6 separate regions of the Homo sapiens genome follow, and all the other regions are linked to region 3. Evidence: promoter capture Hi-C in 16 types of primary human blood cells and fetal thymus (Javierre and others, 2016). All regions are on one chromosome and are shown on one strand. The core of a region is centred on a gene start or on the middle of the fragment in contact, and the rest is flanking DNA. Distances in the headings are between cores, read along the strand shown. Region 1 overlaps SGMS1 (sphingomyelin synthase 1). Region 2 overlaps SGMS1 (sphingomyelin synthase 1). Region 3 holds the start of SGMS1 (sphingomyelin synthase 1). Region 4 overlaps SGMS1 (sphingomyelin synthase 1). Region 5 overlaps SGMS1 (sphingomyelin synthase 1). Region 6 overlaps SGMS1 (sphingomyelin synthase 1).

Region 1 (2,700 bases), core at 103-2,602, 210 kb before region 3:
GCCTTCTGCTGCTGGTGGTGTTCTTGTATGCTTTGGCAGGGAACAAGTAGGTATAGAGAAAAGCAACATAGAAATACTAGCCCTTTTATTCATTCTAGTCACAGTTTAAAAACATTATAACTGGCAGGTGCAGTGGCTCACGCCTGTAATCCCAATACTCTGGGAGGCAAAGGTAGAAGGAATGATTGAGCCCAGAGACCAGCCTGGGCAATATACTGAGACCTCATCTCTTAAAAAAAAAAAAAAAAAAAAAAAACAAAATAAAAACTTTTTTTAATTAGCGAGGCTCCTGGCTAACACGGTGAAACCCCATCTCTACTAAAAATACAAAAAATTAGCTGGGTGTGGTGGCACGCACCTGTAGTCCCAGCTACTCAGGAGGCTGAGGCAGGAGAATCGCTTGAACCTGGGAGGCAGAGGTTGCAGTGAGCTGAGATCACACCACTGTACTTCAGCCTGGGTGACAGAGTGAGACTCCATTTAAAAAAAAAATAGCAGGGCATGGTGGTGCATGCCTGTAGTCCCAGCTACTGGGGTGCGTCTCAAGTATCCCAGCTATTGGGTCGGGGGGGCAGTTGAGGCAGGAGAATCATTTGAGCTTGGGAGTTCATGCTGCAGTAAGCCATGATTGTACCATCGCACTCCAGCATGGCTGACAGAGCGAGACTCTATCTCAAAACAAAACAAAACAAAAAAAGATTATAACAACCCCTAGCCTGCCTGACCTCCCTCCTGCTACTGGCTACAAACATGGACATATAACTTACTCAGATAACTTAGTTAACAAATTCTTAGGGAATAAAATCCATTCATTTTATTCATATAGATTAGAGTCCAGACCCAGTAGTGAGAGGCACTCACTTTGGAAAGAGGTAATGTTAGAATTATTGCTTTATTTTTCCTTTTCTTTTTATTTTATTGATACACAATATTTGCACATATTTATGGGGTACATGTGATAGTTTTTGCATGCATAGACTGTGATGATCAACTCAAAGTATTTGAGATATCCATGACCTCCAGTATTTATTATTTCCATGTGCTGGGAACATTTCAAGTCCTCTCACCTAGCTACATCAAAATATACAATACATTGTTGTTAACTATAGTCACCCTACTCTGCTATCAAACACAAAAACTTATTCTAACTGGATGTTTCTGTTTTTCCTATTCTTCAACCTCGCTGGATATAATCCCATTTATTCCCTGAACTGTTCCTGTCCATTCCATACTCTTTTCCCAAAAGGATTCCTCTACAGTCTTCCCAAGACCATATGGTTTTCATACAACATATCTCTATGTACCCTGGCACTACTGAAACTGTGACAGACATTCCCTTTGAAGTAGACTGTGATGACTAGTTTGTCAGTTACAAACATTTAATTTCATATCTCTGACCTTTACTTGGACATAATCAAAATAAATGACAACAGATTTCTCAATTCTCCTGAGAATTTTGCTCCTAAAAGTAAATGCTAAATATTAGCAATAGATAACTTCAGGAAACTCTTTCGATATATCAACGGGAATATAAGACTATAAAGAGGACAATTATATAGGAACAGATAACTTCAGGAAACTCTTTCAATATATCAACGGGAATATAAGAATATAAAAAGGACAATTATATAGGAAAGTACCACAGGCTCTGGAACCCAAAATGCCTAAGAAACTATATACAGCCTATTATCCTGAGAACCAAATGAAAGTATATTTCATAAGTCTACAAGAATTTTAACAATATAAAATCACACTGAAAAATTCTGTGAAATTTTGTCTATGAACTGCTTTGGGTGAAAATTTCTGTAGTTGTTTAGTAATCTGTGCAATTTAAATGAGAATTATAGGACACACTAACTAGCAAAGTAGGAATTAGTTTACCTTGTAATTTTAACAATGTACTCTAGTTTCTTTTACTCGTTTACATGAGTCACTCACAGAACAGAACACCACATTTCCCACATGAATAAGCACTCAATGACATTCATTTTTCTTCTCAACGTTTTCTAAATTGCAATAAAAAAGATAATAATATTATGATGGTCATGACACTCTTGTGTTGCAAGTCAGATAGGAAAGGGCATTCAAGGTGAAGACAAGCAAACCTGGGGAAGCCAGCTGGTCCTTAGAGTGCAGTGTTATCTGGGGAGACTCACATAGTCCAAGGCTGTCCTTTAGTCTTGCAAATTTATAAATACAATGATCAGAAAAGCATTCATACTGACCACACTTGTGGTGACATTAAAGTAAAAACTCGAGCTGAATACCTTATTGTGAGAATGTAAACCATCAGGTGGGTTGTTTGCTGGCATGTCTGATGGCAGATCTCTGAAAAGCATAGTTACATGAAGTGGCCAAATTACCATGAGAAGGATGCATAGTGGGCATGGAACAAAAATATGTTCTGTGTCTTCCTGTGTGGCCTGACACTGTGCACTGTGAGGTTAAGGAGGACTCAGCGGTATTCACCGATGAGGGCAAGACCAATCTCTAATTCAGATTTGGAACTTAGGCAGATTTCAAAAGCCCTCAGACAGCCCCACCATAGGGGAAGACCCATATGGAGACCTGGTAATGCCGCCCTAGGGGTAAGGCACCTTCTCTGTAGCTAGGCCAAGTTGGCCTCTCAAATTCAGTCTCCCATCCCAGTCTTCAAGTTCTACTTCTCTAAATTCCTCTTCAGACAATTTCCCTCTCAGA
Region 2 (2,700 bases), core at 70-2,569, 170 kb before region 3:
CAACAAGAGTGAAACTCCGCCAAAAAAAAAAAAAAAAAAAGAATGAAAAGACATATACACACTAGGAGAAAATATTTGCAAAAGACATACTGATAAAGACTTGTTATCCAAAATATTCAAAGAACTCTTAAAACTTAACAATAAGAAAACAATTAACTTGATTTAAAAATGGGCTGAAGACCTTAATGGAGAAATCACCAAAGAAGACTTATGGATAAAAATAAGCATATGAAAAGGGCTCCACATAATATATCATCAGGGAAACGCAAATTAAGACAACATGACATACCACTACATACCTATTGAAATTTTTTTAGGTCTTTAAATCTCACATATAAAATGAGAACAGAGGAATTTTTAAAGCAAGCAATATGTTTTAAAAAGAGAAAGAAAATAAAAAGCAGAAAGTGTAGCTCTTAAAATTTATTTCTTAAACTTAAGAGCTCTGGAAAACCAGGTAATAATTTTGAGGTTCCGTTAGTTGAGCACAGAAAACTAATCCATCTACCTACCTGCCTATGTATTATTTTTGCTTGAGAACAGATATGGTTAAATCCTCAGTGTTCACAATGTATAACACATTCTGCTAGGAATTGGAAAGCTTCCTAAGATGAACAATGATTTCCTTTTAGAGTAACCTGGGGTGGTGGAGGGAGTGCAGGGCTTTGATTATGACAGATCTGAGTCTGAACAAGAGGTCCAGTGCTTATGAACTATGTAGTCTTAGACAAGGCTGAGCTCCACTTTCCTGCAAAATAAAAAAAGTATCAAGGGCTCTGTACTTAACCCTGAACTACTCTTTCCTAGGATGGTCTTGCCCCGATACAGCAGGCTCACCCCTCCACTTTCTTCATGTCCTTACTTAGATGTTGCCTTCTCAATGAGGGCTTCCTGGCTTCTCTACAAATAGTGTGTGCACGTGTGTGTGTGTGTGTGTGTGTGTACACACATGCCCCAATTAGACTTACACTCCCCATCCACTTCTCTTCTTTATTTTTTGCCATAGCCTCTGATCCAACAGGTTATCAGTGATAACCCTGATCACCACTTAGCATACATGTATTTTCCTTATTCATCTAGTTTGTCATCTTTCTCCCACTAGACTATTAGCTCCATAATACACGTGTTGGTTGTTCTTTTTTTTTTCTACTTGTCAATTTTGCTCACTGCCTAAAATGTCTAAAGGAGGGCCTAGAAAATGGAAGTGTCACTAAAAATCCACAGAATGAAGTAAGATAATGAAGGTCCCTGCAAGATTCCAGGGCTTCATTCAAGATTATGTAAATAAAGACCTTAGAATATAAAAGGCACTTAGTTAATATTATCTTTAGAGAAAAGACTATATGAAACCATTAATAGAATTTTTTTTAATAATGAGAATAACAGTGTCAGAGATGACACAAGACAGTTGATTCAGCAACAAAAATGTGGAAGAAGAAATAATTTCTATAAATCCATGGTAGTGAAATCATATCATTCTGGGTTATTCTATATGATGAGACTAAGAAATTTATACTTTACAGGAAACAAAGTGGAAGAGAGGAGTGAGTGTGAAAGCAGATTAAGGATTACAAGTGGATGTTATTTATGTGCCCTTCACCCCTGGTTAGCCATCCCTAACTGGGCCCAATAACTGAAACAGACAAGAAAGTCAATTTTATTTTTCTTTGATTTATTCACTTTAACAGAGGGAAAGGGAATAGAATGTGAGAATGCTGGGACAATAATCATGCCTTCAAATATTTTTCTTGACAACTGCTTTTCTGACTGTATGGGAGTCTATAAGTGAGTATACTAATAATTAATATTTTCCAAGGAAACATTTTAGAAGAAAAAGATTCCATAAATAAGCTATTAGTTACCTAATTTGTGTTTCAATTATGGTTTCTTTCCCAAAATAGTTCAGGAAGAAATAAATATAGGAAGTTAATATAAAAATATCCAACACATTTTTAAATGTGATATAAAAAAATTATCAAGTGACCCAAGATTAAAAAACCCAGTACAAAAAAGAGAAAAAGACTTATCCACATCAAGAAAGCTTTCTTCATTTTAATAATTTCCTAATAAACCTTTTAAAATTATTAGTTTGATAAACTTTCCTTATCAACTTAAATTTATTCAATTTATTAAAAATATCATTGATATAATATTCAGAAATATACTCATTACATTAAAAATACAAACAACTGTTAAAAGAAAAAGAAAACTCTAGGAGAATTTATATTTACATTCTAAAATTTGAACAAAAAATAACAAATAGTGGATGCTTTGGATTAAGTAATTTTAAAGTCTGAAAATATTTATAACATGAGATGCAAACTATTTTCCTCCTTAGAAACTATTTCCAATATGAAGTAAACATTATAATTATTAAAAAATGATTTTTAATGGCTAAATGTGGAGATCTGTCAAGCTTACACATTTTAAAAAATTAAAACTTCCAAACACAGCTACTTAACAATCATAATAAATATAGCTTTCTAAGCCCTCCAAATATTAATTTTAAAATTTCTAATCATAATGTAGTCTTATGTTAGCATGTGGCTGACAAGTGATGCTATGAATCCAGTTGGCATGTTTACCATGTTATGTTTCTGGTTCCTCTCATGGCAGAGATTTAAAACACACTACTAACTTTCAAAAACTTCAAAACACATAACTGTACCAGGCAACCATTATCCCTACTCTGATCATTAA
Region 3 (2,700 bases), core at 178-2,677:
GCTTTAAAGGTCCAGGAAGATAAATGTCAAGGGAGCTAAAATAGTCGACAGGCCCCAGAACATAGAAAATAAACTTCCCTTTCAGAAAGCAGCCTTCACTTGGTTTCGTAAGCGTGTACCGCTGAAGTCTGTACTGTTTGAAGGTGAAAAGAAACATCTGAGAAGCACCTGCCTGGATTCTCTTCGCTCCCTCCGGCCATGACAACCCTTATCCCGATTTCTACTTCGCGGCACCAAAGAGGAAAGCAGCATTCACCAGAACGCTCCAGGCTGAATCCGTTAGCTGGACTAGGGCACTCTATCCGGCCCACGGGAGGACGCCACAAGCCCGAGTTCGGGTTAAGACGGTGGGAGAGGCAGCCGCTGCTGCTGCTGTTTTGCCCTTGACACGTCGCTGGGGGATAGCGCAGACCCCCTCTGTCACGGAAAAGCGGCGTCCTGGAGAGACTGTCCAGTTCTGGGCTGCGCCGATTCCCCTCCAGGCCTTGCCCCTAAACGTCCCCGCCCCGCGGGGGCAGCCCTGCGGGGTCTCAGAGCCGCCCGCGAGCCTGGCGGGCTGTTACGCGGCCTGGAGAGAAGGGGAGCGCTCCTCGGGGAGGGGGGGTCCCACCTGTTTTGTCGTCAGGGGGCATCGAGGGGCTACGGTGGGGGGATCCCGAAATAGTGGGCGCCTGGCCGGCTGCGATCTGGACCGAAGGTACCAACTGTCACACCGCCACCTAGGCTGTGGGGGTGGAGCCGTGATTGGAGTCGGCCCCTGGGTGGGGGTCTCCGGACCCCGGGCGGGCTACTGCCCAAAGGCTCCCCGCCTCCCGATCGCCCCAATCCGACACCAGGCAGCCTTCCAGCCCGCACGCAGTAGCTCTGAAAAGGTGCCCACTGACGCCTCCTCCTTCCTCCCCGCCCCAACTTAGCCGGGGAGCCCCGCCGGCGGCCCGCCCCCTCCGAGCCCGGATCCCGGCCGCCGGACCTCCCCGCTGTGACCACCCACGGGAGCAGCAGCTCTGGAGGACTGCCCGCCAGGTACGCGCGCGGCACCGCGCGGGCTGCGCTCACGCCCCCTCGCCCCAGAGCAGCCCGCCCGCTGCTCCCCGGCATAAGGCCGGGCCCGCGAGACAGGTGTCCGATCGGCCCCCGCAACCGTGAGGCCGGCTGTCTGTCCCTGCCCCACGACTCACTTGCACTGGAGTCACGGCAGCCGCCGGAATTCCGCTCGCGGAGCCCCCGCCGCGGAATGAAATCCGGGGCAGGGCAGCGTCGGGGCTCCGCACCCCAATCGCGCTCTCCGACCGGCTCCCTAGGCGCGAGGGGAGAGCAGTCAGCCCAGGCCGGTCCTTCTCACTCCCGACCTGCCCGCCGCCTGCCGCCCGCAGCCGCTGCCCCGCTGGTGCGAACGCTTTCGACTTGCCACCGCGAGCCTCCCGGGCTGCCGAGCATGCCCAGTCCGCTGCCCGAGCCGGCCCGGCTTCCCGCGCGACGCGACTCCGCTCCTCCGGGTGTTCACTGCGGCCGGGGGGGCGGGCCGGCCGGGCGGGGTCCGCGGGGGGCTCCTCCCGGGACCGAGCGGGACCCCGAACCAAGGGACAGTCGCAGTTTGGGCCCCTTGAATTTTACTTTCAAGTAATGGGAAACTGAGGAGGCGGGCGCTTTCCCCAGCGTTTTTAGGGGCCCACTAAGTAAGGCCTAGCGGGAGCCAGATTTTACAATCTGGGACGGTAAATCCCTTGGGGCAGGGCCGGAGACGGGAGCCGCTAGAGCTGGTCACAAAGCAGGGAACGCAAACTCAGCCTGCTGGAAGCCAGGCACGAGTTTGCGAACTACTACTGGATTCTTTTTCCCACCAAGCCCAAGGGCTGCGACACTTGGGATTAATGCCCAATGGATCATTCCTAGGAAACGGCCGACCTGACTATTCGGCCCATTTTCAAACCTCTAACCATAGACTCTCATCTTTCTCCCACAACAGAAAAAAAAAGCCTCTGGCGACGCCTGGGAGCGCGACGGAGGCGCAAGAGCTCTAACCGCGCGAGGTGAAAACTCCGACTGCGTCAGAGCCGCCCCGCCCCGCCTGGGGCCCACCTTCCGCCGCCCCTCCGAGCTGCGGCGAAAACCCGGAGAGCGGCTAGGCCGGGGTCGGAGCCCGCGCATGCCCAGTAGCCCCACGTGGTGCAAGTCGCCTGAAGGAAGGTTTTCCTCTGCTCCCCGAGCGAAGCCCCAGCGCCCAAGTTAGGATGGACAGCGGGGAGAGCTGGCCTTCCCGCCCCGATGCCCGCCGTCCCTGGCCGGCCCGCGCCGCACCTCGGTGGCCTACAGGCAGCCCGAGGCCGTGCCTCCCGCGGGGTCGGGGACTTGGCGAGCGGGGGAAGGGGCGCGGCTACGGGCCCGGCGTACCACGTGACTGTCCGCGGCGCTCCGGGCAGCCATCTTCCGCCCGGCCATCGGGCCGCGGGCGCTCGGAACCGACCTGGGAGCTGGCGGGACCGTCCTCCCCCGCCACGCCCTCCCATCGGGCTTTGGGCGCCGGACTCTGGCCACCGCTCGGCACCTGCCTCCGCCTCGCCTTGGGGTATAGGAGTCCTGTACCGACCCCTGGCTTGCCCAGAGGACAGGTTCTCGCCCGGGCCAGAAGCAAACTGCGGCGAAATCGAGACAACAGAACTCAGGTGGCGGAGGGTCCCCGCTTTTCCCCAGAGGCGGAAG
Region 4 (2,700 bases), core at 42-2,541, 160 kb before region 3:
TACATGATAATCACCCACTGAAATGGCCAGTAAGGTCTCTGCCCAAAGACCTTAGAGTGAAGCCAACCACGTAACAAATTTGCGGTCCATTTTGTATTGTCTCACTCTTAAGTATGAACAGACAACTAAATCCCCAGCACTCATTTGGGAAGAGCCTTTAACATTAAAATCAGGGATCAAAACAAGAAGATAAAGGGAACACACAGGAAAATGTGCAAAGAACAGCAAAAAACAGCAAAATAATTCAATTCATATTCTCAAAAAAAAATGAGAAAATATTGCATCTATCAAACAAAAACAGGATCCTAATTTTAAAAACAAAATATCCATAGACCCTCAAAAATTAAGTTCAAAATTACAAACCTGCTAGCAGAAATTAAAAATTCAATTGATACTAAGAAAACCTCTCAGAAAGTTGAAGAAAAACACAGAAAGATGGAAAATAGCTAAGAGTAAGACTTAAGAAAATTAGAGATCAAACTAGTAGGTGAAAATACCCAACTAACAGACTAAGAAAAGAGAGAATGGGGGGGAAATTATCAAAGAAATAGTACAAGAAAATTTACAAATTGAGAGACATCAGTTTCCAAGCTGAGAGGACAAAAACAACAAAAAGTGTCCCAATATGAAACTGCAGAATTCTGGGCATAAAGAAAAGCATGAAACATTTTCCAGAGACAAAAAAAAAACAGTTCACAAACAACCAACTTGGAGGCAGAATGACTTGAGACATCTCAACTTATATCACAGAGCTCAGCCACAAAAAAAATAATAAAGTAGACATTAATACTTATCTAAATATAGACTGTAACAATGACTGCATCAAGAAAATAAAGAGACAGGAAAAGTAGGTATGTAGTAAGGGTAAAGGGTGGTCTATGAGAGAGAACTCCCCGGCAGGAAATCAATGCATAAGTCTAAGATTTTAAAAGGAATCAGTAAATGGCACTTAGAGCATATGATGTGTTGTTTAGAAATAGGTAGACAAATACTGGAAAATACAACTAAAAGGATTGAAAAGGGCTATCTTTAGGCAAAGGGGCAATAAGAGTATAAAAAGAACAAAGAATGGCTATTAGAGTACTATTTGAATTCTTAAACAATATACATGCAATTACCTCTAAACAAATAAAATAAATAAATGAAAGGAAAGAAGGAAGGAAGGAAAGGAGGGAGGAAGGGAGAAAGACTTAAGAAAGCAGTTCTACAAATTGTTACACAGTAGAGATCTTCAATGTTCATCTACACAGAAAGAATGAAAACAGCAACTGTCCTAACATTATGCAAATGATTACTTGTGGCTTGGGATAAAATTTCCAAATAGAGTGCCATACATAGACTCCAAAAGTGCTGTACTGCAAACACCTAAAATGATAACAGGCTGTGGAAAATAATATTGAATGCTTAAAAAATGTGACTCAAATAATGAAGACACTGATGTCAGATATGTATGTAAAGAGTTGGAAGAAAATTATTCTGGGGTAGGAAAAAAGCATTAGTTATAATATCCCATTTTGTATAAATACATACTTGTTCAAAATATGTACATAACTAAATTAATTAAATGGTAATATGTATTTGACTATTTCATCTATATCCCCAAGATATTCCTTATATATTCCAATTGCCCACAAAAATTGTTTGTTTAGATCCTCTCATTGGGAGAACACAGAAAATACAAATTAAGCATAAAAGGTAAATAATTTAAAAATCAGTTTACCTGAATCATGCTGTTATTTTTCTTCATCAGTCTTCTTTCCAATCTAGAAGAAGTAATAAGTAAATTAAAGTGCATTCTTTGTGCAATGAGCTGCTTATAAGAAAAAAAACTAAAATCCAAGTTAACTATTATTCACTTCTTGTTACGTATACATAGGAAAAAAAAAGCATTATTTCACCAATTCCCAACTAATTTCTGGCTGTCATGGTATTCAGAGTACACTTCTATTAGACAACGCCAAGCAGAAACAAGCATGCAAATCCAATGCCAATAAAAAAACTGCACACCAAATGCATCTGATGGTATAACATGAGTTTTAAAACCATGGACCTTTATAAATTATCTCCTCTCAATTTAGGTAAATAACTGCTAACTGACAATATAAAAAAGATAAAGAAGCAAGAAAGCGTATTTTTCAAACCATAATAATTACCACCCTGGGATAAATTTTCATTTTTACCAAAATGCAATCAATAGCAAGTTAAGTGGAACAACCACAGACCACATACATAAGTGTATGATCAAACAGCTTATAAATAACTCTAACCCACATCACCCTAAAGGCTTAAAAATGCTTCCATGTTTTATTTCATGAAAGACTTTCTCAGCTAAAAATGAAATATGACCCTTTGTAAGTAAAATATACACATGAATTAGGGTACATGCAGAAAGGGGAAAAAGCCTATTTTTTAAAAAATTAGTAAGCCCAGAAATCTTGGGTGGCTTAATAAATTTTCTTAAAGTGAACACCACTCTCCCAAAAAGTCAACACTGCCCTGCCTTCAAATAGCACACATTAGTTTTGCCTGTTGGGCTAGGTATAATTATTTAGGGATCTGTCTGGGAGTCTAAGAATCCCTGTATCTGGACAAAAATAAAATGCTTTAAGGAAAGGGGAGCAAGTAGTGGCTGACTGCAAAGTGGTATTATTTCAGAAAGATGTTAACATGTCTGAGGAAAAAGTTTTGGCTGATTAGTTG
Region 5 (2,785 bases), core at 225-2,724, 230 kb before region 3:
CAATTATTATTCAAACTATTCGGTACTACAAATACATGTAACGTCACTAAATCAAATGCATAAATCATGTTTTAGGAAATACACCTGCAGCAGACAAGACATTTGAGCAGGAAATCAATTTTAACTGATGTTTCTCTTTGGGAGAAACAAAGTACACAAATGTTTAGATTGCTGGTATAGAAATTTATTTTCTTTTATGCTTTACTGAATAAAGCTGAACTTTGTTTTATTTGTTAAAACTAGAACTTTGGTTTTGAATAAAGCATAAACCCTGAAGCATTACTCTATTCCCCAGAGGAATTTAAGTCAATAGAATGTTCATGTCAGCTGGGCGTGGTAGCACACACCTGTAGTCTGTAGTCCTAGCTCTGTGGAAGGCTGGAACAGGAGGATGGCTTGAACCCAGGAGTTGGAAGCTGCAGTGAGCTGTGATCGTGCCACTGCACTCCTGCCTAGGTAATGGAACAAGACCCTGCCTCTTAAGAAAAAAAAATTAATATCTAACAATTAGAATGTTCATGTCTAGATACTTTAAAAATCTTTTTTGGAATTACTCCCTTTGAAAGAAATTGGGCAATTAAGTGCTTGAACCAAAATGTCTACAAGGATAGAGGAATCTGAGAACAATTTCTTTACTGTATCAAGTATCTTGAGTCTCCAGGAAAAATTCCAGACACTTTAGGCTCAAATAAATTCCACTCTGTCACAAAAGTCACCAGCATACCCAAATAAAAATCCCTGGTAATGGTCACAGCCTGGGTCTGGGGTAGCAGTGGAGAGGTAGAAACCAAAGTCATAGCGGAGAGAGGGTAATGTCAGGAATAAAACGGCTCCAAGAGGGGCTATGCACTCTGCCCTGGCCTTGTCCTGGAATAGGATGCCAAGAAGCGTGTAGTTTGCCCGAGCATCTCCAAGACCTGGTCAGAGGTATTGAGAATTTTCCAAACAAAAGACAAAACTTTGAAGAAACAAATATAAAGAACAAGGCACATTTCCATTTCAAAACCATTCCAAAGCAACTCAAAACACATTTAAAAGAGAAAGGACTTCTAGTCTAGGAGACCACAGACCTAAAATCAAGTCATTAACTAATCCCCTCTCATCTTCCACTTTTCTCTGACTTAACTGGGAGGAATTTAATACTTTTCCTTACTTGCAGTGCTGTTGTGGGACTTGAACATGATAACTTACATGGAAACTTTTAAAAGCTGAATTTTTTTTAAAAGAAGACACACATGCAGCCAATAAGCATATGGAAAAATGCTCAGCATTGCCAATCATTAGAGAAATGCAAATCAAAGCCACAATAATACCATCTCACACTAGTCAGAATGGCTATTATTAAAAAGCCAAAAGTAACAGATACTGGCAAGATTGTGGAGAAAAGGGAACACTTACACACCGCTGGTGGGAATGTAAATTAGTTCAACTATTGTGGAAAGCAGTTTGGTGATTTCTCGAAGAACGTAAAACAGAATTACCATTAGACCTAGTAATCCCATTATTGGGTATTTACCCAAAGGAATATAAATTGTTCTATCATAAAGAATGTGCACATGTATGTTCATCATAGCACTATTCACAATGGCAAAGATGTGGAACCAACCTAAATGTCCATCAATGATAGACGGGATAAGGAAAATGTGGTGTATATATATGCCATGGAACATTATGCAATCATTAAAAAAAAAAAAAAAAAAGAATGAGATCATGTCCTTTGCAGCAACATGGATGGAGCTGGAGGTCATTATCGTAAGTGAAGTAATGCAGGAGCAGAAAACCAAATAGTGCATGCTCTCACTTATAAGTGGAAGCTAAACACTGAGTACACACGGACAGAAAGAAGGGAACAACAGACACCAGGGCCTACTTGAGGGTGGAGGGTGGGAGGAAGGTCAGGCTTGAAAAACTACCTGTCGAGTACTATACTTATTACCTGGTTGATGAAATGGTCTGTACGCCAAATCCCCATGACACGCAATTTACCTATATAACAAACCTGCACATGTACTCTGAACCTAAAGTAAAAGTTAAAAAAAAAAAAACTGAAATGTTGCACAAATAAATTATTACTGTACTCAAAAGATGGCAAACTTATAAATGATTAATTTGTAATGTCAAAAGTTTTCTGTCTATGTAATTAGAAAAACAAAATAGAATCTAGCTATATCCATTTAGAGAGTCTTAATCAAAGCCATGGTTTCTTTATGGGTTTAAAAAATAATAAACATCATCATGACTTAGATTTGAGTCCATTTCTTCTAAACATAGTATACAAGTGCACAGTCTTTCACCTAACTGTACAAGGTCGCGAGGTAGCAGTGATACCTCTGGGTTCTACTGGTGACTAGGTTCTACTGAGACGTGAACTGCATACCAGCAGAGCTGTCTTCCTCAGGATCCATGAAGACCAGCCCAGCAAGCGCCATGCAAAGGACAACACTACCAGAAAGTGTACCTTCATAACATCACCAGGGCACAGTCCAAGTGTTATTTCAGAAACAAGAGAAAGAAAAGTCAACAGACAAAAGGTAAATAATTGAAAAACGAACATGACAACAAAGTATGGGAGTGAAATGGTATGATGTCTGGGATTTGTCTTAAAATACTGCCCCTCTTTCCCCAGAACTAAGTAGGGGAAAGGGAGAGAGAGAACAAGAATCCAGAAAGTTGATTGTTAATGCTGGGAGATACGGATATGGAGTTCATTCTACTATTCACTTTACATTCTGTGTTTTTTTAAACTGCCATAATAAATTATCTTTAACTTGAAATTTAATCTGGT
Region 6 (2,700 bases), core at 39-2,538, 140 kb before region 3:
CAGAGAGAAAGGCCAGGTAACCTACAAAGGGAAGCCAATCAGACTAACAGCAGAACTCTCAGTGGAAACCCTACAAGCCAGAAGAGATTGGGGGCCATTATTCAACATTCTTAAAGAAAAGAATTTCCAACCCAGAATTTCATATACGGCCAAACTAAGCTTCATAAGCAAAGGAAAATAAAATCCTTTTCAGGCATAAGCAAAGGAAAATAAAATCCTTTTCGAAACACTGAGGGAATTTGTCATCACCAGGCCTGCCTTGCGAGAATTCCTGAAGGAAGCATGAAATACAGAAAGGAAAAAGCATTACCAGTCACTACAAAATCACACTGAAGTACACAAACCAATGACACTATGAAGCAACTACATTAACAAGTCTGCAAAATAACCAGCTAGCATCATGAGGCTAGGATCATTTGACAGGATCAAATTCACACATAACACTACTATCCTTAAATGTAAATGGACTAAATGCCCCAATTAAAAGACACAGAATGGCAAGCTGGATAAAGAGTCATGACCCATCTGTGCACTGTATTCAAGAGACACATCTCACGTGCAAAGATACACATAGGCTCAAAATAAAGGGATGAAGGAAAATTTACCAAGCAAATGGAAGGCAGAAAAAGGCAGGGGTTGCAATCCTAGTTTCTGACAAACAGGCTTCAAACCAACAAAGATCAACCAAGACAAGAAAGGCATTACATAATGGTAAAGGGTTCAATTCCACAAGAAGAGCTAATTATCCTAAACATATATATGCACCCAATACAGGAGCACCCGAATTCATAAAAAAACAAGTTTTGAGGGGTTTTTTGTTTTTTGTGTTTTTTGAGACACAGTCTCGCTCTATCGCCCAGGCTGGAGTGCAGTGGCATGATCTCGGCTCACTACAACCTCTGCCTCCTGGGTTCAAGCGATTCTCCTGCCTCAGCCTCCTGAGTGGCTGGGATTAGAGGCATGCACCACCATACTTGGCTAATTTTTGTATTTTTAGTAGAGGCAGGGTTTCACCATGTTGTCCAGGCTGGTCTTGAACTCCTGACCTCAAGTGATCCACCCACCTCAGCCCCACAAGGTGCTGGGATTACAAGCATGAGCCAGCGTGCCTGGCCAGATTCATAAAACAAGTTCTTAAAGACCTATAAAGAGACTTAGACTCCCTCATGATAACAGTGGGTGACTTTAACACTCCACTGTCAATATTAGACAGATCACTGAGAGAGAAAATTAACAAAGATATTCAGGACTTGAACTCAGCTCTGAATCAAGTGGACCTGATAGATATCTATAGAACTCTCCTCCCCAAAACAAAAGAATATACATTCTTCTCGGTGCCACATGGCAACTTACTCTAAAATTGATTACATAATTAGAAGTAAAACACTCCTCAGCAAATGAAAAAGAGCTGAAATCATAACAAACAGTCTCTCAGACCACAGCAAAATCAAATTAGAACTCAAGATTAAGAAACTCACTCAAAACCACACAACTATATGGAAATTGATCAACCTGCTCCTGAATGACTCCTGAGTAAATAATGAAATCAAGGAAGAAACCAAGAAGTTCTTTGAAACTAGTGAGAACAAAGAGACAACATACCAGAACCTCTGGGACACAGCTAAAGCAGTGTTAAGAGGGAAATTTATAGCATTAAATGACCACATCAAAAATCTAGAAAGATCCCAAATTGACATGCTAACATCATAAGTAAAAGAACTAGAGAAGAAAGAGCAAACAAACCCCAAAGCTAGCAGGAGACAAAAATAACCAAGATCAGAGCAGAACTGAAGGAGATAGAGATGCAAAAAAACCCTTCAAAAAATCAACAAATACAGGAGCTGGCTTTTTTTGAAAATATTAATAAAATAGATACACCACTAGCTAGACTAATAAAGAAGAAAAAGAGAAGAATCAACTAGACAAAATAAAAAATGATAAAGGGAATATCACCACTGACCCCAAAGAAATACAAACAACCATCAGAGAATACCATAAACACCTCTATGCAAAAAAAATTTAGAAAATCTAGAAGAAATGGATAAATTCCTGGACATATACACCCTCCCAAGACTAAACCAGAAAGAAATTGACTCCCTTAATAGACCAATAACAAGTTCTGAAATTGAGGCAATAATTAATAGCCTAGCAATCAAACAAACCCAGGACCAGACGGATTCACAGCTGAATCCTACCAGAGGTACAAAGAGGAGCTGGTAGTATTTCTTCTGAAACTATTCCAAACAATCAAAGAGGAGAAACTCCTCCCTAACTCATTTTATGAGGCCAGCATCATCTTGATACCAAAACCTGGCAGAGAAAATACAAAAAAAGAAACCTTCAGGCCAATATCCTTGATGAACATCTATGCAAAAGTCCCCAACAAAATACTGGCAAACTGAATCCAGAAGCACATCAAAAGCTTACCCACCATGATCGAGCTGGCTTCATCCCTGGAATGCAAGGCTGGTTCAACATATACAAATCAATAAAGATAATTCATCACATAAACTAAACTAAAGACAAAAACCACATGATTATATCAATAGACACAGAACAAGCCTTCAACAAAATTCAACATCCCTTCATGTTAAAAACTCTCAATAAACTAGGTATTAAAAGAACATACCTCAAAATAATAAAAGCTGTCTATGACAAACCCACAGCCAACATTATACTGAATGGGCAAAAGCTGGAAGC

Evidence for each region. Contacts are between HindIII fragments. The CHiCAGO score rates a contact against its expected background, and 5 or more counts as called.
Region 1: a contact is called between a fragment that was not itself captured here and the fragment with the promoter of SGMS1 in region 3, in 16 of 17 cell types (monocytes, total B cells, activated CD4 T cells and 13 more). The highest score is 15.0, in monocytes.
Region 2: a fragment that was not itself captured here is called in contact with the fragment with the promoter of SGMS1 in region 3 in 13 of 17 cell types (total B cells, monocytes, M2 macrophages and 10 more); the score reaches 10.8 in total B cells.
Region 4: a contact is called between a fragment that was not itself captured here and the fragment with the promoter of SGMS1 in region 3, in 2 of 17 cell types (monocytes and activated CD4 T cells). The highest score is 7.4, in monocytes.
Region 5: a fragment that was not itself captured here is called in contact with the fragment with the promoter of SGMS1 in region 3 in 5 of 17 cell types (monocytes, total B cells, M2 macrophages and 2 more); the score reaches 9.1 in monocytes.
Region 6: a contact is called between a fragment that was not itself captured here and the fragment with the promoter of SGMS1 in region 3, in 1 of 17 cell types (monocytes). The highest score is 5.1, in monocytes.

The regions. Positions count from the first base shown.
Region 1 is chr10:50,408,200-50,410,899 of GRCh38, forward strand. The region is part of intron 6 of SGMS1 (sphingomyelin synthase 1); the gene reads right to left. Among named protein-coding and RNA genes, the nearest start is that of ASAH2, 160 kb to the left of the region's middle. RefSeq lists an enhancer at 1,781-2,281. The HindIII fragment of the contact is 3,180 bases long and covers 1-2,700 here.
Region 2 is chr10:50,448,722-50,451,421 of GRCh38, forward strand. The region is part of intron 5 of SGMS1 (sphingomyelin synthase 1); the gene reads right to left. Among named protein-coding and RNA genes, the nearest start is that of SGMS1, 170 kb to the right of the region's middle. The HindIII fragment of the contact is 1,440 bases long and covers 600-2,039 here.
Region 3 is chr10:50,622,529-50,625,228 of GRCh38, forward strand. It overlaps SGMS1 (sphingomyelin synthase 1), which reads right to left and starts at 1,428. Exons shown (of 11, transcript NM_147156.4): 1 at 1,179-1,428. It overlaps SGMS1-AS1 (SGMS1 antisense RNA 1), which reads left to right and starts at 2,423. Exons shown (of 4, transcript NR_126411.1): 1 at 2,423-2,663. RefSeq lists enhancers at 186-585, 1,297-1,825 and silencers at 776-1,115, 1,376-1,635, 1,684-1,841, 1,966-2,595. The HindIII fragment of the contact is 12,791 bases long and covers 1-2,700 here.
Region 4 is chr10:50,465,170-50,467,869 of GRCh38, forward strand. It overlaps SGMS1 (sphingomyelin synthase 1), which reads right to left. Exons shown (of 11, transcript NM_147156.4): 4 at 1,721-1,763. Among named protein-coding and RNA genes, the nearest start is that of SGMS1, 160 kb to the right of the region's middle. The HindIII fragment of the contact is 8,199 bases long and covers 1-2,700 here.
Region 5 is chr10:50,390,159-50,392,943 of GRCh38, forward strand. The region is part of intron 6 of SGMS1 (sphingomyelin synthase 1); the gene reads right to left. Among named protein-coding and RNA genes, the nearest start is that of ASAH2, 140 kb to the left of the region's middle. RefSeq lists an enhancer at 839-1,365. The HindIII fragment of the contact is 3,672 bases long and covers 1-2,785 here.
Region 6 is chr10:50,482,265-50,484,964 of GRCh38, forward strand. All of the region lies in intron 3 of SGMS1 (sphingomyelin synthase 1), which reads right to left. Among named protein-coding and RNA genes, the nearest start is that of SGMS1, 140 kb to the right of the region's middle. The HindIII fragment of the contact is 2,263 bases long and covers 158-2,420 here.